7 separate regions of the Homo sapiens genome follow, and all the other regions are linked to region 1. The links are contacts of gene promoters, found by promoter capture Hi-C in blood cells and fetal thymus (Javierre and others, 2016). All regions are on one chromosome and are shown on one strand. Each heading gives the region's core, a stretch centred on a gene start or on the middle of the fragment in contact. The rest is flanking DNA. Distances are from core to core; before and after follow the strand shown. Region 1 holds the start of UBE2Q1-AS1 (UBE2Q1 antisense RNA 1). Region 2 holds the start of DCST2 (DC-STAMP domain containing 2). Region 3 overlaps ZBTB7B (zinc finger and BTB domain containing 7B). Region 4 holds the start of LENEP (lens epithelial protein). Region 5 overlaps CKS1B (CDC28 protein kinase regulatory subunit 1B). Region 6 overlaps LOC105371449 (a long non-coding RNA gene). Region 7 holds the start of TPM3 (tropomyosin 3).

Region 1 (3,617 bases), core at 776-3,275:
AACTAGTTATTGGTGTGGGGCCCAAACTAAGAGCTCATCCATGCACTTATCCAGATCGGAGTGGGGAAGGATTTGATGTCTCTGTGCTCCCCTACCTGTAGCTATTGCAGCATCTGAAGAGGATCATCTCCGACCTGTGTAAACTCTATAACCTCCCTCAGCATCCAGATGTGGAGATGCTGGATCAACCCTTGCCAGCAGAGCAGGTGAGCAGCTGAGGAGCCTCGGGCCCTGTTGTGCAGAGTTGCCCCACAGGGTACTCAGTAAATAATTGAGACAAATCAGTAGTTTCTCTCCATCCCCACCGGCTCCCAAAAACATACACGTCTTATGACTCTCACCCTCGTTCTTCTCCAGATGGGAATCTTCTTTTGCTAAATGGGGCACTGGTAGCTTCATCTCTGATATCAAAATTCATTCTCATGGGCAGCATCCCAGATGTTGAAAGGGAGCGGGGGAATTTTTACCATTATCTTAGCAATAACAGTTGGTGGCCACTGGGGACCCAGGCCCCTTGGTGAGAACCAAGAATGCAATATCAGTCTAAAGAAGATCAAGTAAAGGAGGGGTTCTTAGGAGAATTAAACTAGGATTTAGGAGGTGGGTGACAGAGACAGCCATTTTGCTTTTCTTTTATTCTTTGGCAGTGATAGGCGAAAAATAATGGGCTGGTAGCAAAGCCATTCCCTGGGCTGTTGCTTCCACTCAGATCTGGCTGGTGGAGAGACTGGCAGCATTACAGGCAGGCGCACAACTTCCAGACCTGGGGGCTCAGGGGAGTAGGTTGGAGGCTGCATTCTAGCAAGCCACTGGGGCTCTGATCTCCATCTTTCCCTTCCTTGCTGCAGTGCACACAGGAAGACGTGTCTTCAGAAGATGAAGATGAGGAGATGCCTGAGGTAGGCTTGCCCCCTGAGGTGGCATTGGCTGGAAGCTCTTGCAGTCAGCAACATTGGTACCCATATCCAGAACTCCAGTCTAAAACTGGAGAGAGAAAAATATCAAAGGAATAAAGACAGATTTACTGACCTGGAGGAATAGCCAGTGTAGTAGAGGAGACAGGGCACCCATATCCAACCACTGAAGACAGGTGCAGCGCGGTTCAAACCAAATACTGGGTAAGTTAATTTCAAATGGCTTTGGAGTCCAACAAACCTGTGTTTGCATCCTAGCTATCCTAATTGAGGAATTTTATGTAATCTCACTAAGCTACAGTTTTCTTATCTATAAAGTAGGATTATAATACCTACTGCATATGGTTGTCTTGAGATTAAATGAGGTGTTATATATAAAATGCTTCAGATGATACATGATAAATGCTAAACAATCTATCTGATATATTCTCTAAAAACATACAGAATATAAAATCATGGTTAGGAATTTGAGCTTTAGAGCTAGACAGAACTTGACTGAATCTTAGCTCTGCTAAGAGCTGTGACTTTGGGCATGATAATTGACCTCACTAGACTCAGCTTCCGCATCTATAAAATGGATAATGATAGAATAATGAGTGATGGTGGTAAGAATGAAATGAGCTAGTATCTGCGGCACCTAGGACAGAACCTGGCATGTAATAAACACTCAGTAGACATTACCTGCTGGTGTGGTAATTAGGTATGTCCTGCCAGAAATGGGGAGATCACTCTGATTACTTTTATTTCCTAGCATTAGATTAATATCCCAGGTTCTATAACCGTGTAAGGTTCTTGAGACTGGCAAAGGGCTGACGACATGAAATTTACTCCTCCCAGATAGTGGACAGCCCTCTGGGCCACACCCCCAACATCTGGCTGAGGGGCTCAACCCTACATAGGTTCTCCTCCTTCCCTATGCTCAGTGAGCTAGTTGCTTGCTCACTTAGAGCAGGATGAATAAGGGGCTAATTCTGTTCTTGACCTCTTCCATATATCTCTCTGGACATCCTTTCTCATTTCCATCTGGCAGTGCGTGCCTCTGCATACCTGATTCATGCCTTGCATTTGTAGCGAGGAGAGGAGATGTAATGATTCAGGTTTCTCCTTTAGGCTTGGGGCCCTGAGAACTCCCGGGTGCAATAGTCACCTGGTGAAACATGAGCTTTGAGTCACAGGGTCAGGCCCAAGTCATTTCTGCTAGGAATTAGGGAAGAGTTTCTGCTGCCAAGGGAGTTTTAGGAACAGTTGGAGCAGGGTCAGTCCAGGAAACAAGAGGGCTAAGTCCCTGCCTCGATCTCAGCTGCAGCTCTGCTCGTTTCCGAAGTCCTTGCTGTAGCTTGAGAGCTGAAGATTTAGACTGTGGAGGGAATGGGGCTGGAAATTGTTCTAAAAATGGAAAGCACGTTGCGTTTATAAGACTGCTAGATGGACTGCTTCACTTTAACTTTTGGCTCTTCGCCAAATGGGACTGGGAAGGTGATGGTCATTCTCTAACCTGTGTCGGTTTTTTTCCTTTTCTTTTCACTCCCACCCCACACCTCCTCCAGGACACAGAAGACTTAGATCACTATGAAATGAAAGAGGAAGAGCCAGCTGAGGGCAAGAAATCTGAAGATGATGGCATTGGAAAAGAAAACTTGGCCATCCTAGAGAAAATTAAAAAGAACCAGAGGCAAGATTACTTAAATGTACGTGCCTTCTAGAGAGAGGCTGGTGAAGGGGTTGGTGGGAAATGGCTGGGAAGTAGTAGGCCATCGCATCTCAGTATGGAGAGCAGACTCCTTTTTTGTGCCTAATCCTTTCTTAAATCCTGGGCAAGCTGCCAGACTGCCCCTAAGGTCTAACGTGTGTTTATAAACCACACGACCAAGGAATGTTCCTGTCATCCGTCCCTCACAGGGTGCAGTGTCTGGCTCGGTGCAGGCCACTGACCGGCTGATGAAGGAGCTCAGGGATATATACCGATCACAGAGTTTCAAAGGCGGTGAGTTTGCCCCAGAGAGGGGCCTGCACAAGAGTCACCCATAAAGAAGGGTATGGTGGCAAGGGGCCCAAGAGGTTCTGGGGTCCAGGAGTGCTTATGAACTTTTCAGGCCAAGAATGGAGCTCCTCAAGCCAGTGGCTTGGTTGCATGTCCATCTGTGGTGAACCTAGAGCTGTTGATCTTTTTCTCTCAGTCTGGGAAAGGGGTCTGCATTAGAGACCACTCACCACCTGGACCATTCTACTAACACCTGTTTTTTCCCTCCTTCCAGGAAACTATGCAGTCGAACTCGTGAATGACAGTCTGTATGATTGGAATGTCAAACTCCTCAAGTGAGTGGGGACTCTGGGATTGGAGAGGAAGTTGAGGAGGAGTGTGAGTGGGGCTACTGTGGTGGGATCTCCAGGGCAGCCCCATCCAGCATTTTCATTCAGGGTCCCGGAGCGGGTGTGGGCAGTGGTTTCGTGGTCTGCTGCCAGCCAGGGCAGGGGAGCCCTTATGAAGCTCCTGAGGTGGAACCAGGCATCTGAGCCCAGGCTTGTTGCTTCTTAGAGTTGACCAGGACAGCGCTTTGCACAACGATCTCCAGATCCTCAAAGAGAAAGAAGGAGCCGACTTCATTCTACTTAACTTTTCCTTTAAAGTAAGACTTTTCTTTTCCAGTCTCTCCCTCTGGCCTAGGCTGCCCAGTCTGCCTGACAGTCCTGTGGAGGATGCTG
Region 2 (3,617 bases), core at 292-2,791, 480 kb before region 1:
GGCATGGTGATGGGTGCCTGTAATCCCAGCTACTTGGGAGGCTGAGCAGGAGAATGGCTTGAACCTGGGAGGTGGAGGTTGCAGTGAGCTGAGATTGAGCCACTGCACTCCAGCCTGGGCAACAGAGCGAGACTCCGTCTCAAAACGAAAACAAAAACATACAAACAAAACCAAAGCAAAACGGCTGGATGCTTGTCATCCTTGTTTACTGCTAAATCCTCAGCAGATTCTCAGTAAGTGCTGAGTGAATGAATGAATGAATGAATGAATTTAATTTCTTAGGAGGATCAGAAAACGAGGTCAGACAGGTCAGGAGAGATGAGAGTTATGAAGGGTTATGGGGTTGGACTATATCATGTGGGTGATGGGGAGTCCCTCGGAATGGAGAGACTCCCTCAGGGCAAGGACGGTGTCTTCCTTCTTAAATTGGCAGCCTCTTCCCTCTGGACCTCCCCGTAAAGCCCAGGAGGAGGCGGAAGCCACAGGGGATGTATGGGTACAGAAGAAACAAGTCCCGACTCCTTCCTGGGCATGCAGGACGGCGCTGTGTTCCACAGGCCGCTTGAGTGTTCCTGGCTTTTGCCCAGCACTAACCCACCAAGCTGTACAAGAACATAATCTTCTGTTCTTCGTAGATGTTCATGGGGTTCACCAGGAGCTGAAAGAGACCTAAGGGCACAAGGTCAAGCCAAAGGCCAAAAGATGGGTCCTAGCCCTGGTCCAGCCTCTGCCCACCCCGAACTTTCTGCTTCCACACTCACCTATGGCCAGGAGCCCCCCAGCGCCTGCCCCCAGCAGGAGAGCAGTGACAGGAAACTCGCCCGGCTGGCGCCACAGGAACCAGCTACAGGAGACTGGCAGCCCCCAGGTCAGGAGCCTCTGCACCGCTAAGAGGGGGACAGGGTAGCTCAACAGCCCACTCTTCTGCCTGGGATGGGGCTCATTAGGATTCAGGGCTTGCAGGTGGATAGAGGCTGGGGAAACCTGGCATGTGAAACAGTAGGAACTTAGGGGACCCTGGAGGAGGATGAGGGAGCCTGAGGAAGTGGTATGGGTGTAAGGGACAGCAAAGGCAAGGGCTGGGCTGGGAGGCGGGAGGCACTAGACCAGAGAGGTGGTGGAGGCGCGGACACCGAGTTGGGGGATAGTGTGCAGGAGTTCCAGGAGGAGAGATGGGATGAGAGTGGAGGTCAAGGGATACTGGGTCTCTGCTGAGTGACTCACTGGTATGAGGCTGTTTTCTTCTTTGCCCTCTTGTGCCATTCTGATGATGTTTAATGTCCATGAGTCTGTTTTGGGGAAGCACCACTCATCCCAGGTCTCCTGAAGGACCTCCTTGGACACAAGGTTCTGGTGAGAGAAGAGAGGTGCTGCCTGTCTCTTCCGCTTCATGGGAAGCCTAGGCCTGAGCTCTGGGCCTTTTAATCCTTCTGCTCCGAGAAGTGGGGAAGGAGATTAGAGACCTACCTATCCCCTCTCCAGTCCTCGGAACTGGGTCAAGGATTCCAAGACATATGCAGTGAAAGCCCTTTGGAACCTTAGAATACGGTGAGAAATTCCAGGAGCACAGAAGTCAGCGGGCATCTCCTGGAGACAGGCAGACATTTGGTCTCAGCAGCCATGCCCAAAGTCATGAAGGATGTTGTGCACCCCTTGGGGGGAGAGGAGCCTAGCATGGCGAGAGCTGTGGTTCGCAGCGTGGGAGGTTTTACCCTGGGCTTGTCTTTAGCCACGGCCTACGGGCTTCTGGAGCTACTGGTGGAAGGCCACAGCCCCTGGGGTTGCCTGGTGGGCACCCTCACTTTGGCTGCCTTCCTTAGCCTGGGCATGGGATTCTCTCGCCAGGTCCGAGCCACTGTCCTCCTGCTGCTGCCTCAGGCCTTCTCCAGTGAGCTTGGCACCCAGGGCTAGGGGGCAGGTCCTGGGGCTGGTGCTGGGGCAGAAGAGATGCTGGAGGAGAGGCAGGGGTTAAGGGAAATATTCTGAAGGCTTATGTAAGGGACTTGCTGCCATGTTTGGGGCTGGGGTCTTGGTTCTAACAAAGCTGTCGCCCCCAGGGCAGGGCCGGACACTACTGTTGGTGGCTGCTTTTGGGTTGGTGCTTCAAGGGCCTTGTGCCAACACTCTACGCAACTTCACCCGGGCCAGCGAGGCTGTAGCCTGTGGGGCAGAGCTGGCCCTGAACCAGACCGCCGAAGTGCTACAGAGGGCCAAGCAACCTCTTGTCAGTAAGTCCCCCACCTCTACCACTGTCTCCCACGGGCCCCCCTCGCCCCCCTCATCCTGCATGTTCTACAGTCCTTTGGCCTCCTTCTCTGCTGGTGCTAATCGCGGAGCATCTGGGCCTGGAAGGGACTCTGGGCACAGCTAAACCCTCTCTCCTTGCTCTCTGGCCTCCTCCACTCCCAGATTAACGATCTCCCAGGCCCCAGAATCCAGGCTTCCCGCCTCTGGAAATGGTGGCCTCCTCTCTACTCCCTGCTTAAGGGGCAATGGTGAGAACCAGCCCCTAGAGGAGAAGACTCCAAAGTGCCTCTGTCCCTCACCCATCAGGTGCCCTGAACAAGATTAAAGCTATTGCCCGGAAGACCAAAGAGGTGGCTGACCGGGTCCGCAAGTTCTTTCGGTCAATCATGGATGGTGTGAAACACATAGGTAAGCACATTAGCATGTCTATCCCGGGGACTCAAAATGCACCCAGTCCTGGCCGGGTGCGGTGGCTCATGCCTGTAATCCCAGCACTTTGCGAGGCCGAGGTGGGAGAATCACTTGAGCCCAGGAGTTTGAGACCAGCCTTGGCAACATGGCGAGACCCTGTCTCTATAAAAAATAAAAAAATAGAAAATAAATAAAACTAGCCAGATGTAATGACACATGTCTGTAGTCCCAGCTACTGGGGAGGCTATGGTGGAAGGATCTCTTGAACCCAGGGGTTTGAGGCTGCAGTGAGCTATGATCGTGCCACTGTACTCCAATCCAGCCTGGGTGACAGTGTGAGACTCCATCTCTAAAGAAAAAAAAAAGCGGGGGGGCCAGGTGCGGTGGCTCACACCTGTAATCCCAGCACTTTGGGAGGCTGAGGCGGTGGATCAGGAGGTCAGGAGATCAAGACCATCCTGGCTGACATCGTGAAACCCCGTCTCTACTAAAAATACAAAAAGTTAGCCGGGCGTGGTGGCACGCAGCTGTAGTCCCAGCTACTCAGGAGGCTGAGGCAGGAGAATCTCTTGAACCCAGGAGGCGGAGGTTGCAATGAGCCGAGATCACTCCACTGCACTCTAGCCTGGGCAACAAGAGCGAAACTCCATCTCAAAACAAAACAAAACAAAACAAACAAACAGAAACAAAAAAATTCAGTCTCCTCACCTGTACCCTGTCCAGGGTTTTTTGGGCCCCTTCTGGGCGCTGGCTAGTGTTCACTGGACACAGCACAGCCAGGTCCCTGACCACAGGCCTCTCCAGCCCTGGATACTGTGGTATTGTTCCCCAAAACCCTGAGAAGAGGCTGTAGGATTCCAGCCCTGGGTGCCAACCCTGCAGCTGTCCCCAGCCAGGGCTCTCCGGAATGTGTGGCAGTGGCTCCTGCACATCGGCGATGTGTGCAACTCGGAACTGGG
Region 3 (3,617 bases), core at 439-2,938, 460 kb before region 1:
CTATGTACAGAATGGGGGTGGATTCAATCCTAAGAGCAGAGTGGGGATTATTCTCCCCTGCCTGACAGGAAGCCCGGCTGGCAAGGATCTGGGAAGGGGATCACTTTCCCACAGGTCCGCAGCCCCTTCCCCTGCGGCCAAGCGAGAAGTTCTGTGCCCACTGCCTTGGCAAGGGGGCGCCGCTCACCAGCTGGGGTGGATGAGGAGCGTGAAGACAGCTCGCTCCAGTGGCCGCGGGGGGCGCTCGCCCACTCAGAGCATGGCCGCCAGATGGCGCCGGCTCGCCCGCTCTCCACAAGGCTCTTCCAACCCCTTACCCTGTCCCACACCCTTCGCTGCGCCAGCCCGGGGGCGGCGTGAGTCAGGGGCGGCAGCGGTGGCGGCGGCTCCGGCTCGCACCTGGGCGGGGAGGAGATGGGGAGGAGGAGAAGAGGGTAGGACGCCGCCCGGCCCGCCCTGCCCTCTGGCCCCGGGGAGGGAGCGGCGGGAACAAGACATTCCCTGCCCAGGGCCGTGGGGAGGGAGGGCTAGGGAGGGGAGTGGAACGGAGCGGCTCCCCTAGCTGGGCGGGGCCCCTCTACTGCCCCCAGGGGCAGGCGAGCCAATCAGGCCACCCCGCCCCCTTCTCCACGACCCCATGACTCAGCGCCGGGAGCAGGGCGGAGGGGGACTGGGATGGCTCCTTCCTTACAGGCCCAGTCCCCCAGTCTTTCAAGCTTCCACCTGGCTTTCCCCCACCTACCCTTCCTTTGCCGGCCCCCTTTGCATAATTCACTGCCAGGAAAAAGGAACAGAAACCAGGAAGGAGGGGTCTCGAAAGGGAGGGGCAGTCCTTCACCCCCTTACACAGCCAAAACCCCCAAGGGGCATAGGGGCGGGGCAAGGCTTTGGTCCCAAGCCCCCACCCCCTAGAAACCCGCATAGCCGAAGTGGGACCCACAAATTAGAAATACATTATTGCTTCTACTCCCCAGGAGCAGCTGGGGACAGGGACCCCACTTTTACAATACAGCTGTAAATATATACACAATATATGTATCACTCCTTGGGGGATCACCCCAATTTGGGGAGCCTCTGCCCCAATACCTTCTTAGCTTGGAATTGGAATGAGGGCTCTGGGAGGAAGGGCTGATGCTGATGCCAGCAAGGCTCCGTGCCCCAGACCCCTGCTGTGTCTGTCCTGCGTGCTCCCACTGCTTGGCATGGGTGTCCCCGGCCTTGTGCTGCTTCAGTCTGGCCCTCGTCCCTCTTTAAGAGGACTCCATGGCACCTTCAGCCTGGGGTGTGGTGGGTGCCCCTTCCTCCTCATCGTCATCAGGGGGCCCTGGGGTAGAGACCGGGGGCCCAGTGGGGGCTGACTGCTCCCAGAATCGAGCTAGAGAGAGGCGGAAGGTGTCCAGGTGGCCATTGGAGAGGTCGAGGCCAGCGGGGGATGCAGCAGCGGTAGAGGGTGGTGGGTAGTGGGGTGGTGCATCGTCCTTGCGGCGCCGTCGGGTGCGCACCTCCAGGCAGTTCTGGCCTTTGAGGTGGCGCTGCAGGTGGTCCTCCTTGGCGAAAGCCTTGTGGCACAGGTGGCACTCATAGGGCCGGTCCCCTGTGTGCAGGTGCATGTGGTTCTTGAGGTCGTAGCTGTGCAGGAAGCGGGCTGGGCAGTGCGGGCATGAGTAGGGGCGCTCTCCCGTGTGCTTCCGCATGTGGATCTTCAGCTTGTCGTTCCTGGCACAGGCAGGGGTGAGGGGCAGGGAGGTGTTCAGGATGGGATCCCTGGCTCCTCCTGGTCATCCCACCCTGGCCTTGTCCCATCCCTGTTCCTCACCATTTGTTACCCCACTATTGCCCCAGGAGATACCCTGCTAGCTCACCTCTAGCTTAACTAGGCCTTGTCATTATCCACTCCTCTGCTTCCAGCACTGCCCTCCTGGGCACCGAATCCTCCATGCTCCAGATCCACCCCCTGCTGGCTTGTTTTCTTCTGCTCTCCTCACTCCAGTAACCCACCCATGCCCCAGTCCCTCCAGGACCACCTACCACCACCTCGGGTCTCCTAACTTCTTCCCCATCTCCTCCCACCCTGTCCCCTACCCATGGCCCCTGCCGGGCCCTTCCCCCCTTGCTGCTCACCTGGTGAATCGAACACCGCAGACCTCGCAGGCAAAGGGCTTCTCGCCTGTGTGGGTCCTCATGTGGCGAGGCAGTTTGCCTGCCCCATGGATGATCTTGTGGCAGACAGGGCACTCCTGAGGCATCTGGGAGCGGCGTTTGCGCACCAGCTTGTCTTGGCTGTCCAGGCCTGGTGCCAGGTTGTCCTGGTGCAGGGAGCTTAGGTAGGCCATCAGGTCAGGATCGATGGCATCCTCATCTGAGCCCAGCTCCTCTGGGGACAGCGGGGGCCCGCCACCCTGCGCCAGCCCATAGGCTGGGGGATATACCAGCTCCTCTTCTTCTTCCTCACCCTCATAGGGTTCGTAGCTCTGGGGACCCTCAGGAGGGGAGGCAGTTCCTGTGGGAGGGCTGTAGCTGTCCCCCGGCCCACTGCCCCCACTGCTGCCCACTCTGCCCGCCACCTCCTCCTCCTCATAGGTCAAGGGATGGGCGGGCACTGTGGGCACCTCAGGGACTAGGTGGTTTGCTCTGGCCCCCTTGGTTTGCAGGAAAGCTTTCCGGGGCTTGCGGCTGCGGCGGGCAACAGGCCGAGGTGGCGGTGGCGGAGGTGGTGGGAGGGGCACCTGTGGAGGACTGTCTTCACCATTGGGAACTCCAGAGGCCGTGGCTGTGGCAAAGGCCTCCAGATACTGGCGGGCTCGCTCACAGTCATCCTCGTCCGGGCTGGGAGCTTCTAGCCCACTGCCCTGCAGAATCTCCATGCAAGCAGCGATGACACACGGGATCTCCAGCAGGCGGGCAGCCTGGAGCACAGCTGGCATGTTGGCGCTGCTGGTGGTCAGTGTGGCTGTATAGGCAAATTCAAGGAGGGCGCCTAGTGCCTCTGGCCCTACAAAGTCCAGCTCACACACACCGGCCCCTGCTCCCCCAGTGGCCGTCCCGCTACCCCCGGCCCCCATGACAGCTCCGCCACCGCCCTCAGTGAAAAGCTTCTTGAAGTAGTGGCTACAGGCAGCTAGCACAGCCCTGTGGGTGCGGTATTCAAGGCCCTGCGTCCGGATGGTGAGGTCACATAGGTGGCCCAGCTGGCGCTGCTCATTGAGGCAGCTCAGGAGCTCACTGCTGTGGTCCGGGAATGGAATCCCAATCAGGTCATCCTCGGGGCTCCCCATCTTCTCCTGCAGAGTCAAGTAGAGGGGAGATTAAGAGCGCTCAGCCCACAGGGGTCTGGGGAAAGAGGACCAACTTTAGCCAATACTTATTGAGGGATGACTGCATGCCAGTCACCCTTCTGAGTACTTTACACTCATTTCATCTTCCAGAACCCTCTGAAGTATGATCATCATCTGTTTCACAGACAAGGAAACTGAGGTTCAGACAGGTGAAGTGATTTTCCAAGTTAAGTGCAGAACAGTGTTCAAACTCAGGGAGTGGGCCCGGTCCTTGTTCCTAACCACTATACTATTCTACTCTGCCTCTGTGGCAGCAGGAGCCCTGCCTTTCTGGCCCTTTCA
Region 4 (3,617 bases), core at 725-3,224, 440 kb before region 1:
AAATTGGCTGGGCGCGGTGGCTCACGCCTGTAATCCTAGCACTTTGGGAGGCCACGGTGGGCGGATCACGAGGTCAGGAGATCAAGACCATCCTAGCTAACATGGTGAAACCCCGTCTCTACTAAAAATACAAAAAATTAGCCGGGAGTGGGGGCGGGCACCTGTATCCTAGCTACTCGGGAGGCTGAGGCAGGAGAATGGTGTGAACCCGGGAGGCAGGGCTTGCAGTGAGCTGAGATCGCGCCACTGCACTCCACCCTGGGTGACAGAGCGAGACTCTGTCTCAAAAAAAAAAAATCGAAATTAGCAGGACATGGTGGTACGCTCCTGTAATCCCAGCTACTCAGGAGGCTGAGGTAGGAAAATCGCTTCAACCCGGGGGACGGAGGTTGCAGTGAGCTGAGATTGTACCATCGCACTCCAGCCTGGGTGACAGAGTGAGAATCTGTCTCAAAAAAAAAAAAAAAAAAAAAGACACATTGACCTGCCAGGGATAAGAAATAAGCTCAAGTTGGAGTACCGTAGAGGCTAGGCTGCTGTAAAAAAGAATGGACAGGCTCTCCGTGTACTGATGTGGGATCCTGAATCCTGTCCAAGGTTTATCAAAGGAAAAGAAGCAAAGTGCAGAACAGCGTGGAGAGTATGTTAACTAGGAAGAGTAATATATCCAGAATCCAGCCACCCCTCACTACTGCTATTGCTATAAACCTGGTCCGAGACCACCAACATGTCTGGCCTATATTGTGCCATTACCTCCTAATAGGTCACTCGTATTCTACCTTTGCTCCCCTGAAATCTATTCTCAACACAGCAGCCAGCTTGAGCCTTTTAAATTAAAAAACTCATTTCACACTCAATATTCGGCAATAGTTCCTCATTTCACTCAGCATAAAAGCTCAAATTCTTAGGCCCTCTATGACCTGCCCCCATTCCCACCTCCAGCTCGATTTCCACTTCTTTTTTCTATAGTGCCTATCATCTAATAACATATACATACTTTAAAAAATGTTTATAGTTTGTCCTCTCCACCCCCTAAAATGTAAGCTTCACAAGTACAAGGATCTGTTTTGTTCACTGCTGCATCCAAAGACCCACAGTGACATATAATATACACTCAATAACTCAATATTTGTTGAATGAATGAAGATGCAGTCTATGCACAGACTGGAATGTTCTCCAAGAAACTGGTAACCATGGTTGCCTCCAGGGGGAGCGCTAAAGGATTGGGGGATAGACGTGGAGACTTTTAACTATTAGAGTTCTTTTTTTTTTTTTTTTTTTTTTATAAGACGAAGTCTTGCTGTGTCACCCAGGCTGGAGTGCAATGGTGCAATCTTGGCTCACTGCAACCTCCACCTCCTGGGTTCAAGCCATTCTCCTGCCTCAGCCTCCCAGGTAGCTGGGACTACAGGCATGTGCCACCACGTCCAGCTAATTTTTTTGTATTTTTAGTAGAGATGGGGTTTCACCATGCTGGCCAGGCTGGTCTCGAACTCCTGACCTCAAGTGATCCACCCACCTCGGCCTTGTCCCAAAGTGCTGGGATTACAGATGTGAGCCACCGCGCCCGGCCTTTTTTTTTTTTTTTTTTTTTGAGACAGAGTTTCATTCTTGTCCCCCAGGCTGGAGCGCAGTGGCATGATCTCAGCTCACCGCAAACTCTGCCTCCCGGGTTCAAGTGATTCTCCTGTCTCAGCCTCCCAAGTAGCTGGGATTACAGGCACTCACCACCTCGCCCAGCTAATTATTTTTAGTAGAGATGCAGTTTCACCATGTTGGCCAGGCTGGTCTAGAACTCCTGACCTCAGGTGATCTGCCCGCCTCTGCCTCCCAAAGTGCTGGGATTACAGGTGTGAGCCACTGTACCTGGCCTGGCCTAAAGTTCTTTACTCTGGGCATATATCACCTTTACAAAAAGAATCTAGAAAAAAAAAAGAGTTAACTAAGAAGAAGGCTGAGGAAGAGCTGGTCCCAGGCAGGGAGGAAGAGGGCACTATCTATAATCTCCAGGCCAGTGCCCCAAGTGACAAAGGGCTGGGGGATGATAACTGGCCCCCCAGGAGGGGCCAGAGAATGCTGGATGGGAATCCCAGGGAAATACTGAACAGTCCCAAACAGGCTGGCTCTGAGGTTTGGGGGGCTGTGGGTGGGCAGATCAGTAAGCATAAGCACCCCCTGAGCAAGACGATACACATGGCTGGTGTATATCTACCACCGGGAGTAACTCATGGAAAATACCAGCTGTGGCTACCAAGAGGAAGTAAAGAGCCAATTCTGCTCAATCTAGCTGTTTATGTCCTGATAGGGCTGTGTCATGATAAGCCTGAGGGACCTGTGTGGCCACACAGGTGTCTTTCTCTGGTAACTTTGTATGTGAGCTGGGAGCTCTTGTAGCTCATGGGGTCCTACTTCCTTGATGAGCTGGGGACTAGCCTCAGCGCAGTGCTTTCCCCAAGATCCTCAGAGGCAGGAAGCTGCCTGGACCAGGTCTTCTATTTGGGAAAGGGCTGGGTCCTCTGGGTTTCCACACACCCTTGGCCTCACAGATGAAGACCCTACTCAAGCTGGGTCCCCTCCTTACCCACAGATTGAGAGGAACCTGAACTGTCTTCCACCCTCCCCACTCAGGAACCAGTGAGTCAGAAAACCTGGCTTTCAATCTTGGTTCTATTCAGGACAAGCTCCTTCCCTCCCTGGTCTGCACCCTTGCTCCCAGACCGTTCTAGTGCTGACTTTTTCTGATTCCCCTTTAGACACTTATAATCTTGGGCCTCAAGGCCTATGGATTATATTTATAATTCAGTGATTCTCAAACAGGTTTCTTAGGGGGCAGTCCATTCTTGGTACTATGAGGGTATGGTAAGATCAACCATCTGAGCTGGTGGGCTCACTGTGCCAAGCTTGGAGGAGTGCCAGGTCTTGCCACAATCTTACTGGGGTCCTAGCCAGAGCAGTCCAAGCTCCTGCCCACCAGAGGTCCACCAGAGGCAGGGGTTGGGAATGAAGGAGGCTCAGAGATGAGGCAGGTCTGCTAGATGACACAGCTCAAAGCAGGATCCACACTTTACTGTTTACTCATTGTTTATGGCCCATCCTTGGTCAAGCACAGCTGGCTTCAGGAGTCTTGATGGCAATTGGGCTGGGGGCTAAAGAAGAGAATGAGAAGCTAAGGCAAGCTCTGCCACAGAAGCTGCAGCTATGCCTCCTGTTTACTCTACCCTGCCCACCTGAGCGATGCCAGCCATGGTGCTGGTGGGGAGAGGAGGCAGTTCCCTGCTACCATTAATCCAGCAGTTCCTTGATACACCAGCAGCAGAGGAGGATGTAGGCGACTTCCTTCAGGGTCCGCTGGAAGCCCTCCCACCCTGTGCCCATCTTAATGACAGGCACCCGCAGCCCAGTGTCTCGAGGGGCCCCTCCGAGGAAGAAGGGTAGGGTTTGGGCTAGGGGCTGTGTCCGGGGCTGCATGTGGGCAACAGTTCCGAGGAAGGGTGTGGGAGCTGCCTCTAGTGCCTTTTATCAACACTGTCCCCACCCCCTTCAGCCTCATGACTACAGAGACAAAGGATCCAGGGTCTAGCAAAGGGAAGGTTCTAGGCCTGGGAACAGGCTGAGTC
Region 5 (3,617 bases), core at 833-3,332, 420 kb before region 1:
GGACTATGTTAAAGGCAGCACCCCGACTGTAGGAAGCAGTTCATTTGTTTGGATGAGATGAAGTTGTCCCTATATAACCTCTACCTCAGGCTAGTAGTTAGAGTGAAATATATTTCAGTAGATGTTTGACAGCAAGTCTGCTTAAAGTAGATTAAAAACCAGTTATCTCAATGTTAAACCTCATTATCAGCAAAGAGCTGAGCTTCATTATCAAACTGAAGGGCATATAATTAGAACCATGATATTGATGATGCTCACCCTGAGTGAGGGGGAAAAAACCCGTACAATTACAGCACTAGATTATAAAAACTTCCTCTTTAATCAAGGCTTTTAACATGAACAGATTTCTTGAATAAAATGGAAAGTTTCCAGTACACTGAAACATAAATCCGCAAGTCACCACACATACAACACCCGGCAGGAAAAAACAAAAACAGCAAGTTTACATGATCCCTGTAACAGCCATGGTCTCAAACTCAGATGCTTCCTCCATCTGCCAAGTGTGTTCTGGATACAGAGCACATCGTGGCTTCTGGGGTCACACTCAGCTTAGGCTGTGGGTCCACAGAGCACTCATCTGGCTGGGCTATGGTGGTGGTGGCTCTACTCAAGAAGCAAAGCAGTTACCAGCACATTCAAACAGTGTATTGAACATCTTTTAAATATCAAAGTGAGAAACAAGAAGGCAACATAATAATGTTATCAGAAAGATGTTAGGAAGTAAGGACAGCTGTGTAAAGCTTGAGGCTGAAAAGTAGCTTGCCAGCTTCATTTCTTTGGTTTCTTGGGTAGTGGGCGCCGGAACAGCAAGATGTGAGGTTCTGAAAGAGTGAGGGAAATCTAAGAGACAAGCTCACACCATTCTATGTACAACCTATAGTGTATTCCACTACCACCTCCCCAGCTATCACCCACTCAGATCTTTATAACTAAATAAAGACTTAAGCATATGGCCTTAGAAGCAGACCCAGAAGTCTGGACTGTCTGCCAAGTACAGAATTGTTAATATCAGTTCTTTTGCTATGTTTATACAGCCCCAGGGTGTCCCTTATTAGTTTTGCCTGGCAGCTGGGTGTCTGGTGTCTTATCAATAAATATACTTTCCTTTGCTTATTTAGAACACATCCAAGAATGTTTTCGATGGAGAATGAGGCAGGGGCTATGATCAGGCTATATGTGGCCTTAAAAAGAATACCCTCTGATTGAATGAAAGATTACAGGAGGTTTTTCAGTGACAGGTTGTCTCTGAACTTCCCAGATATTTTAGTCTTATTTTTGGTCACTAGTTTTTTTTTAAAAAAATCCCCCACGACTGGAGGGGGAAGGAACCAGTAAACCATTTCCTATCTCCCTATTTGGGTTATACAATCTTATTCTTTCATTCTCTCAGTGTAGCAGTTCTATATGGTTGTTTTTAGCCAGTGCACTGACCTGGTTCATGGATCATATAATGGACCCATCCCTGACTCTGCTGAACGCCAAGATTCCTCCATTCAGATTCAGACATCAGATGGGTTTTAGGGACCAGCTTGGCTATGTCCTTGGGCAGCATGACATGTCTGTAACAGAAACGGGGAAGTGGGGAATTTATGTTAGTACCAGATACAGTCTCTTAGACAAATGCCTGTTTACAAGGCCAAGAAAGGAAAGAAAAACTGGTTTTTGATGTCAGAGTTTATATAATTTTATTGTGGGGTAGCAGCAGCTAGAAATACAGGCTATGTTATATAAATTCCGAGAGTATATTAAAAATACAAATTAGTGAATAATTCCAGTGAATGAGCACTTAAGTTCAAGGCACATTTTCTCCGCCTTCATGGACCTTATAGTCTTCTAGTTGATTATCTACAACATAATGGGAGCCCCACGGAGCACACAGTGTTAATAATTAGAAGGAAGGAAGAGAAGTTATTTTGTGGCGAGGAAAGGCCTTTTATGAAGTACTGTGTGGACAAGTTATTACAAAGGATGAAATGAACTATCTTGTCCTTTAAAATCTAAGCCAGGCATGGTGGCACAAACCTACAGTCCCAGCTACTTGGGAGGCTGAGGCAGGAGGGTCATTTGAACCCAGGAGTTTGAAAAAGATACAGTATGAAGTTTGAAATCTGATTAAAATACAGAAGAAATAGGCCAGGGGCGGTGGCTCATGCCTGTAATCCCAGCACTTTGGGAGGCTGAGGTGGGTGGATCACTTGAGGTCAGGAGTTGGAGACCAGCCTGACCAACAACGTGAAACCCCGTCTCTACTAAAAATACAAAAATTAGCCGGGTGTGGTGGCATGCACCTGTAATCCCAGCTATTTGGGAGGTTGAGGCAGGAGAGAATCCCTTGAATCCAGGAGGCGGAGGTTGCAGTGAGCTGAGATCTGGGCGATAGAGTGAGATTCCGTCTCAAAAAAAGAGAAAAAAAATAAGAAAAAAGAAAGGGCTGCAATGCACAATGGTTGTGCCTGTGAATAGCCACTGCACTCCAGTCTGGGCAACAAAGCAAGACCTTGTCTCTTAAAAAAAAAATTAAATCTATCCTGAATCTTATTTTCCTAACTCTGGAGGGATGTACCTTGAGACTTTCTGGGTAAATTCCGTGCTTTTCTAACCAAGGATAAGTCTCCCTTCATAGCAAAAAAATTATTACCCTGATGTGAATCAAACTAATCCACATAGTCTTCGTCATGCTCAATGAAAATGTACTAAGTTCTCCCTCTGTGCTAGTAACAGTGATTCCCCACCATTCTCCTAAAAGAAAAAATTCTAGTCCAAATATAATGAAAATAGCTCACATTCTAACACCACCCTGGCACGAAATTTGGCTTCAATACATACACCAAAAAACCCCTCTTAAACCAAAGTGCCACTGCCAAGAGTTTCATCTTCCAGGGGATGAAATGGTGATTCCTTCCCAGCTCCACAAATCTCTTATAAGCACATACAGTTTTAAGTTAGTTTAGTTCAGATGTAGAGGAAAACAGCTGAGGAAAAGAAAGTTAATTAAAGGAGGGTCTGGAGCCGTCTTGGCATAAAGATGATTATGTATTTGTCAATGCACATCGAGTTCTCTGGAAGACCCAAAGCCCTGAACTAGGCTGGGTGAAGAGACACAAGAAAAGCAAGTTTTCATTTTATGTTCTCCAACTGAGGAGACAAGATACAAACCAGGAAGTGGTCTTAATTATTACAATTAATACAGATTAGCATAATGCCAACATTTGTGGAATCCTGTGTCTTCCCTTATTCCCAATCTAGATTATGCACTTAAAATTTATCAAGCCCGAATGCCACATCCAGTGCCAGGATTCCATCATCACCATCCTTGGCAGATGGCTATCCAGTGTCTTCTAAACAATTTCAGTCAAGAGGTGCTTCCTCCCACATACCTTTTTCTTAGAGTCTCATCTCAGGCTCTGCCCTCTAGGAAGCTTTCCCCAACATTCCCTCTTCCGTTTTTCCTCTCAGTATTTTAAGTTTCATGTTCAAGGGTACATGTGCAGGTTTGTTATATAGGTAAAATCCTGACTCGGGGGTTCGGTGTACAGGTTATTTCATCACCCAGGTACTAAGCATAGTACCCGACAGTTTTTTTTTTTCCTGAACCTCTACCTCCTCCCACCCTCCTC
Region 6 (3,617 bases), core at 322-2,821, 360 kb before region 1:
GACATGCCTGTTCCTCCTTTGCCTTCTGCCATGATTGTAAGCTTCCTGAAGCCTCCCCAGAAACTGAGCAGATGCCAGCACCATGCTTCCTGTAAAGCCTGCAGAACAGTGAGCCAATTAAACCTCTTTTCTTTATAAATTACCCAGTCTCAAGTATTTATAGCAATGCAAAAATGGCTTAATGTAGATGGAATATACTCAGCCTCATAAAGAATATCTGTAAAAGCCCTACTGCTAACAACACACTTAGTGGTGAAATACTAAATGTTTTCCCCCTAAGACTGGGAATAAGGCAATGATGTTTGTTCTCATCACCTATTCGACATTCTACTGGAGGTTCTAGCCAGTGCAATAAGAGAGAGAAAAAAAAAGCCATCTAAATTGGGAAGGAAGTAATAAAACTCCTTTTATTCATAGATGACATGATCATCTATGTAGAAAATTGGATGGATTCTCCAAAAAAGCTATTAGAACTTATAAGTGAGTTCAATAAAGTTGCAAGGTCAATATACAAAAGTCAATATTTCTATTTCTTAGCAATGAGCAATCAAATTGAGATAAATAATGCCAATTACAATACCATCAAAATATGAAATAGGGATAAATCTGATAGAAGACATAACATCTGTACATTGAAAATGACAAAACATTGCTAAGAGAAATTAAAAGACTAAATAAGCAAAGAGATTATACTACATTCATATATTGGAAGACTCAATATTGTTTATTTTTTTGAGTTGGAGTCTCACTCTGTTGCTTGGGCTGGAGTGCAGTGGTGTGATCTCGGCTCACTGCAACCTCTGCCTCCCAGGTTCAACTGATTCTTGTGCCTCAGCCTCCCATGTAGCTGGGATTACAGGCACATGCCACCACACCCGGCTACTTTTTGTATTTTTAGTAGAGATGGGGTTTCACCATGTTGGCCAGGCTGGTCTCAAACTCCTGACCTCAAGTGATCCGCCCACCTCAGCCTCCCAAAGTGCTGAGATTACAGGCATGAGCCACCGCACCTGGCTCAATATTGTTAACATATTTATTTTTTAAATTCAGGTATAATCACACACAGTGAAATGTACTGACCTTAAGAATACAGTACAATGAGTTTTGACAAATGTGCACACCTGTATAACACAAACCCTTATCATGATAGAACACATTTTCATTATTTCAGAAGGTTTCCTTTTAACTCATCCTACTCAATCCCTGCTTTCCCAGAAACAATTGTTTTGAATTCTTTCACCATAGATTAGTTTTGCCTGTTCTAGAATTTCACACAAATGACTAACATCCAACTTTAAACCAAATTTACAACAATGATTTATAATTTAGACTTCACCGGTTTATTGCTCATTTTCAATCCTTTTATAGTACCTCAACTTCCCCATTTTTGAATTTTGTATTTTGATTCCTCTCCAGATAGTTAATGTGTCTTGAAAAATTTTTTGAAAATGGTATGTAGATGATTTTTTTTTTTTTTTTTGAGACAGAGTCTTGCTCTGTCGCCCAGGCTGCAGTGCAGCAGCATGATCTTGGCTCACTGCAACCTCTGCCTCCTGGGTTAAAGTGATTCTCCTGCCTCAGCCTCCTGAGTAGCTGGGATTACAGGCATGTGCCACCACACCCAGCTAATTTTTGTATTTTAGTAGAGATGTGGTTTCACCATGTTGGCCAGGCTGGTCTCGAACTTCTGACCTCAAGTGATCAGCCTGCCTCGGCCTCCTAAAGTGCTGGGATTAGAGGCATGAGCCACTGCGCCCGGCCATGATCTATTTTCTGAACCTATATGTATGAGAGAATGACATTCTCTTGCCTCTATATTTGGACAATGACTTGGTTGGCATAAGTTTCATGACCTGGTTCCACTGTCTGGAGAGTATGAGGTCACCTTGACTTTTGTTCCTTTGAAGGTAACCTTCTTTTTTTGCCTGGATGCTTTTGGATATTTTCTTTCTTCTTTTTGTCTTCATTTTCGAAATTCAAATCCTGGCATTCTCCAAGGCAGAGATATGGACGTGTCTTAACAGGAAAAAGTTGGCATCTTATTGTTCCTGGTAAAGCATTATTGAATAATGAGATGGGAACTGAAATGGTCTTGTGCATCCAACTGTCTGCTGTAACCTAAAGTAGTCACCTTGGGCATTTGGGCTGAGACACTTCAGGGCTGTTGCCTTTATCAAATGGCTTTGGGAGCTCCTCTTTGCTTTGAGGACCTGCCCTCAACTCTGCCAAATTCTCATCCCCAAAAGTGCATTTGGGTTTTGGAAACGACCAAAGGGAATTTGGTACTAAACTCTGGTGAAAGAGACATCTTATGGCCAGGAAAAATAGTCCTGTAATGTAATAATTCTAAAACTTACCAAAGTTAATTCTCAGAGAGGAATTTTTAAAAGTTGCCTTAGTAATCAAGCCTCTGTATCTTCGCATGTGCCATTCATGCTGCCTAAAGTACCCTTCCTAGTTGCTTGGGCTTGGACCCCTACAACTTGAGCAGAGCAAGGGGCACTCCACTTCCATTTCCAGAATGCTCCACAGTGTACACTTTCTCACTCCTCCACCATGCTGTGAGCAAGTAAGGAAAGGTTTTTTTCCTTTCGAGTCTTTGGTACATTGCACATAGTAGAGGTATATTAGTCGGTTTTGCATTGCTATAAAGGAGTACCTGAGACTGAGTAATTTATGAAGTAAAGAGTTCTACAGGCTATACAAGCATGGCACCAGCATCTGTTCTGCTTCTGGTGAGGGCTCAGGAAGCCTCCGCTCATGGCTGAAGGCAAAGGGGGAGCAGGCGTGTCACATGGTGAGAGAGGGAACAAGAGAGACAGCAGGAGGTGCCAGGCTCCTTGAAACAACCAGCTGTCCTGTGAAGTAACAGAGAGAGAACTCACTCATTACCACTGGGATGGCACCAAGCCATTCATGAGGGTTCTGGCCCCATGACCCAAACACCTCCCATCAGGCTGTACCTCCAACATTGGGGATCACATTTCAACATGAGATTTGGAGGGGATAAACATCCAAACCATATCAGTAGGTCTCAATACATGTTTGTGACAATGAAGAAAGTTTATGTGTTAGAAAACAATATGACCTCCTAAGCTTATTGTCATGAAGCAGTTAGCAGTCATTTGGATGTATTAAGTTATGGCGAATGTGTTTGAAGCAAGAACAAATTGCCTCCCGTTGCATTACTCTTACTCATTATAGACAGTCACATGCTGGCAAATGTTTAACAATCAGCTCCCTGGAAGGGGAAAAACAGCCCTGATTTGTAGTGTTTGACCATTTCTGTAGTGTAAATATTCCCACTGTGGCTGATTTCAATCTACCAGTGGGATGTCAGCTGGCTAGCAAAATCCCTGAACATGCAAAATGTTGGCTCTTGCAAGCCAGTAGAAGGTGGCTGAAGCTGGTTCCAATGCACCATTGTACACATTCTACACCTCTTTTGTTTTTCCATCATCACCCAGTTCATTTGCGTGCTCCTTGTACAGCACATGTCTATGACTATATTTTATCCCTTGCATCAATCTGATACTATTTTTATCTTCATTTTACAGGTAGTAAAATAAGGCCCAGAGACAAAGGGACTTGTCCAAGGTGGCAAAGCTTTCCTGTCT
Region 7 (3,617 bases), core at 765-3,264, 360 kb after region 1:
GCAATTTTGATGAGGAGCTGCTGACACGGCTGATCCTCTGGGCGCTGGGGCCGTGACATCAGGGTGAGAAGCTCTGTGTGGGAGCTCTAGGGAACGATAGTTGCCCGGATGTGGAGCCCTGCCAGGTATTCTTCCTGGTTTAGGCCAACGTGATCCAGCAAAGGCCAGGAGCTTGTAGAGGAGGAGCTGAGGCAGGGATGACACGTAGGACAATAAGCAAGAGCTGGCTGTCTTGGGAGGTGAAGAGCAGGAGCCAGTACCCTTCCTCAAGGAGATGGCTCTCCACCTAGACATGATTGGTGCCTGGTGTCTGCTCTATTCTTTCTTTGCAACTGGAAGGAAGGCAGATGACCCCCAAAGCTCTCCTGCCTGCTTCTGTGTGATATGTTTGATATTGGGTTGTTTAATTAGGAACCAACTAAATGTCAAACATATTCTTACAGCAGCAGGTGATTCAGCACCACCCTCTTTCATACTTCAATCTCTGGGGCTCCTGTCTCTTTTACTGAACCTCTTCTCTCCAGGACCCCCCCAAAAGTCCAGTAGCTGCAACCTATGTGCATTTCAATCTTAACCTAAGAGGGCTGGTGTGGGAATGGGAGAGAGTTGGAATTTGAGGATAGAATCTTTCTATTTCTTGTCCCCTTATACTAGAAGGGACATTTCTTTGCCTTTTCTTGTCCTCGTATTTTTCTCCCCCTTATTCACTTGCCCACCCCCCCCCCATTTTCCACTCCTTCCTCTCCCTGTTCCCTAACCCCTTTCCCTGGCTAATCTCCAGAGAAAGGAGACTTGGTTTCTCCTCTCTCTGTCGAGAGTCAGCTGATGGTCTATCTGCCTATCTACCTCTAGTGACTGGAAGCTCTCAATAGTGGACTCCAGCTCTGCTCTACCCACTGGCCTGGTGGGTGTCTCCGTTCCCCCATTGCTGGGGCTTAGCATTAACTCTCAGTATCCTGACATAAATGACTAACTAGAGCCATTTATATTTGTCCAATATATCTGGTCACCTTGAACAGTGCCCACCTCTCCCTTGGCATATTTTCAGGTGTATGGTGCCAGTGGACTGGTATCCTTGCCACCTGTTAGTAACAAGGCTCCCAATGGAAGAATAAACATGGTCTGGAACTAAACTGGAAAGAATAGAGCTGATAATGATGATTACGATGATGTGGTGAGTGGCAGCGTTGGGGAGAATTAAGAAGGGAGAAGATAAAGGGAAGAAGAGGAGAGAGCCACACAGACCAAAGTCTGTGTGGGTACAACAGTTCTATTTTAAGATTACTGTGGGAAAACAAAGGGTATGATCCTGTCTGGATTGTTCTGACCCTCCCCTGTTTCTCTCCCCACCCCACTTGAAGCTCTGGGATAGCCTTCAAGGATAGGGTTGGAGATTCCAACCCTACCTCTTACTCTACTCTTGTGGCTCTTGGTGGGGAGGAAAAACGTCTCCCTGCCAATCGGAGACTCCCAGAATAGCACAGCAATTTGATCTGGGGATCTGGGAGAATTGTTAAGGATCATGAGTGACCTCCCCTCTTCCCTGTGCCCAAGCTCCTTGAATACCAGGAATCAAAAGCTAAAACTCAACTAACGGAGTTTGACCAGCATTCAACACAGTCTGGGGGAGAGTGAAACGGGAAGCTGAAAGGCAACCAGGACCCCCTGGATGCAAACTGCCAACCTAGAATTGCCAAAGTACACTTCTCTATTTCAATGTTCTTCCCTCCCCTCTTCCTCTTCTTTTAAAACATCCATAGAGCTGCCCAGAATGAGTGGAAAGTTTCAGGGTCAGGGAGAACCTCTTCCCTCCCCCACTTTCCATTGTCTAAAATCAGCCTCAGCTGTTGCTAGATATTTTTTTTGCTGGTGATGTCAGTTCATCAAAGCGTCTCACCCTGTGTTCCCCCAGGAGAACAATGATGGGGTGGAGGGAGCTGGAAAGACCATATTAGGAACAAAAGGTGGAGCTATGAGCACAGATAAAGACTCAAGTCTGGGGACCTCCTGGTCACTCAGGCAGCAGCCCCTTCTTTCTTGCCCCAGTCTCCAGTTCTCCAGTGTTCACAGGTGAGCCTACCAACAGCCACTGCTCATGATGGAGGCCATCAAGAAAAAGATGCAGATGCTGAAGTTAGACAAGGAGAATGCTCTGGATCGGGCAGAGCAAGCTGAAGCTGAGCAGAAGCAGGCAGAAGAAAGAAGTAAACAGGTAGGCACTGGCATTGATCTCTCTCATCTGCTAGTGAACAAGACTGTGAAATGGAAGGGAGTTTTCATGGGAAAGACAGTGACTACTGGTGTCACCTCCTTTTTGGGGGTGGGATGGACTCCCCAGCCTCACTGGAGGAGCAGAGGATATCTAACATATCTGTCTCAGACTGCCTTTGTGACCTTGGGAAAGTCAGTGAGCCACAGTATGTCTGCTGAATTTAAGTAGAAATGGACCATGTTTTGGAAGAACCCTTGACTTCTAGAGGAAAAGGTAAGAGTTCTAGAGGGAAAGAGCATCTCTTTTCACTCAAATAGCATCACGGGCATCTACACTTTAGATATTTATCATCCAGGGGTCTTGGATGAAAACCCAGGATGGCTTGGTCATCTTAGGATCAGAGATTACAGGGTCACAGGCCAAGCTACGGCATAACTCCTGAGGCAGTGGGCTGGAAGTGGCTGGGGAGAAAGTGTGTCTCACTAGGGATGGTAACATGGAGGTTACACTCAGGGCTCCAAGAGCCCAGGGTCCAACCCTGCATTGTTGTGTTTGTGTGTTTTTGTGTGTGACTCTCTGGGCTCCTATAGCTGGAGGATGAGCTGGCAGCCATGCAGAAGAAGCTGAAAGGGACAGAGGATGAGCTGGACAAGTATTCTGAAGCTTTGAAGGATGCCCAGGAGAAGCTGGAACTGGCAGAGAAGAAGGCTGCTGATGTGAGTATTAGAGAGATGGAGGATGGGTTTAATCTACACATATAGATCTTTATGTTAATGTATGACGAAATTCCAAACACACTTGTGGGTTCATGGAACACAGACATATATACTCACATACATTTTTGCATATAACCACATGCTGGTATATTCTCATAATGGCATGTATTTTCTTTCTTAAAGACATCTCCAACATGTTAAAAGTTTTTTTTTAATACATGTAAAGGTCTCATTTATCTCCTATCACCAACCCAGGAATTTAATTATCTTTCCCAGGACCTGGACAAAGAGAGGGGACTCTAAGTTCAGAATGCTGTCACTTATCCTACCTCCTCCCCCATGCCACATTCTTAGCTTTTATGTCCAAGTCTTGGCATGTGGATATGTGTATTAATAGGGAACCTCTCATCTCTCAACTGTCCAACAAAACCAGCTCGGATTTCACAATGGGAAATGGAGGTCACACTGACCCTGGCCATATATGGGTTTATTTATCTTGGCCAATGCAGGCATTTGCCTTTATGCCATGGAGATGCCATATGAAGCATTGCTCCTAGGGCAGCAGAGAGATCCCTACAGTGACAGAGTATAATAGAAACTAAGAAAGAATCTTAGGGGGTAAAGGTATCACCACCAGACTTCACTCTATGACCGTGAGTAATTACTCAGCTTGTCTAGGGCTGAATTTT

The links. Contacts are between HindIII fragments. The CHiCAGO score rates a contact against its expected background, and 5 or more counts as called.
Region 2: the fragment with the promoter of DCST2 here is called in contact with the fragment with the promoter of UBE2Q1-AS1 in region 1 in 7 of 17 cell types (erythroblasts, fetal thymus, total CD4 T cells and 4 more); the score reaches 8.8 in erythroblasts.
Region 3: a fragment that was not itself captured here is called in contact with the fragment with the promoter of UBE2Q1-AS1 in region 1 in 6 of 17 cell types (M1 macrophages, endothelial precursors, naive CD8 T cells and 3 more); the score reaches 6.2 in M1 macrophages.
Region 4: a contact is called between a fragment that was not itself captured here and the fragment with the promoter of UBE2Q1-AS1 in region 1, in 5 of 17 cell types (endothelial precursors, M0 macrophages, megakaryocytes and 2 more). The highest score is 9.4, in endothelial precursors.
Region 5: a contact is called between a fragment that was not itself captured here and the fragment with the promoter of UBE2Q1-AS1 in region 1, in 2 of 17 cell types (M1 macrophages and fetal thymus). The highest score is 5.6, in M1 macrophages.
Region 6: a fragment that was not itself captured here is called in contact with the fragment with the promoter of UBE2Q1-AS1 in region 1 in 5 of 17 cell types (M1 macrophages, endothelial precursors, M0 macrophages and 2 more); the score reaches 6.8 in M1 macrophages.
Region 7: a contact is called between the fragment with the promoter of TPM3 here and the fragment with the promoter of UBE2Q1-AS1 in region 1, in 4 of 17 cell types (M0 macrophages, M2 macrophages, endothelial precursors and 1 more). The highest score is 6.0, in M0 macrophages.

What each region holds. Positions count from the first base shown.
Region 1 is chr1:154,552,017-154,555,633 of GRCh38, reverse strand. It overlaps UBE2Q1-AS1 (UBE2Q1 antisense RNA 1), which reads right to left and starts at 2,025. Exons shown (of 2, transcript NR_046668.1): 1 at 1,962-2,025; 2 at 606-984. UBE2Q1 (ubiquitin conjugating enzyme E2 Q1) reads left to right here. Exons shown (of 13, transcript NM_017582.7): 3 at 102-206; 4 at 849-899; 5 at 2,462-2,602; 6 at 2,814-2,898; 7 at 3,170-3,230; 8 at 3,451-3,541. The HindIII fragment of the contact is 6,880 bases long and covers 1-3,617 here.
Region 2 is chr1:155,031,705-155,035,321 of GRCh38, reverse strand. DCST2 (DC-STAMP domain containing 2) reads left to right here and starts at 1,541. Exons shown (of 15, transcript NM_144622.3): 1 at 1,541-1,888; 2 at 2,058-2,228; 3 at 2,554-2,655; 4 at 3,551-3,617. The coding sequence starts at 1,621. It overlaps DCST1 (DC-STAMP domain containing 1), which reads right to left and starts at 1,498. Exons shown (of 17, transcript NM_152494.4): 1 at 1,468-1,498; 2 at 1,225-1,350; 3 at 762-887; 4 at 595-669. The coding sequence starts at 1,285. The HindIII fragment of the contact is 9,861 bases long and covers 1-3,617 here.
Region 3 is chr1:155,014,319-155,017,935 of GRCh38, reverse strand. ZBTB7B (zinc finger and BTB domain containing 7B) reads right to left here. Exons shown (of 3, transcript NM_001256455.2): 2 at 2,122-3,281; 3 at 1-1,716. The coding sequence starts at 3,275. The coding sequence ends at 1,251. Among named protein-coding and RNA genes, the nearest start is that of ZBTB7B, 13 kb to the right of the region's middle. RefSeq lists a cis regulatory region at 589, a silencer at 151-620 and an enhancer at 517-661. The HindIII fragment of the contact is 1,940 bases long and covers 719-2,658 here.
Region 4 is chr1:154,993,459-154,997,075 of GRCh38, reverse strand. It overlaps LENEP (lens epithelial protein), which reads right to left and starts at 3,490. Exons shown (of 1, transcript NM_001394530.1): 1 at 2,761-3,490. The coding sequence starts at 3,468. The coding sequence ends at 3,283. The HindIII fragment of the contact is 1,856 bases long and covers 1,047-2,902 here.
Region 5 is chr1:154,975,929-154,979,545 of GRCh38, reverse strand. CKS1B (CDC28 protein kinase regulatory subunit 1B) reads right to left here. Exons shown (of 3, transcript NM_001826.3): 2 at 1,432-1,559; 3 at 295-821. The coding sequence ends at 769. Among named protein-coding and RNA genes, the nearest start is that of MIR4258, 2.0 kb to the right of the region's middle. The HindIII fragment of the contact is 2,679 bases long and covers 743-3,421 here.
Region 6 is chr1:154,913,172-154,916,788 of GRCh38, reverse strand. The region is part of intron 1 of LOC105371449 (a long non-coding RNA gene); the gene reads left to right. Among named protein-coding and RNA genes, the nearest start is that of PMVK, 22 kb to the left of the region's middle. The HindIII fragment of the contact is 3,055 bases long and covers 44-3,098 here.
Region 7 is chr1:154,190,497-154,194,113 of GRCh38, reverse strand. TPM3 (tropomyosin 3) reads left to right here and starts at 2,014. Exons shown (of 10, transcript NM_152263.4): 1 at 2,014-2,212; 2 at 2,803-2,928. The coding sequence starts at 2,096. MIR190B (microRNA 190b) reads left to right here and starts at 371; the gene lies at 371-449. The HindIII fragment of the contact is 3,875 bases long and covers 1-2,877 here.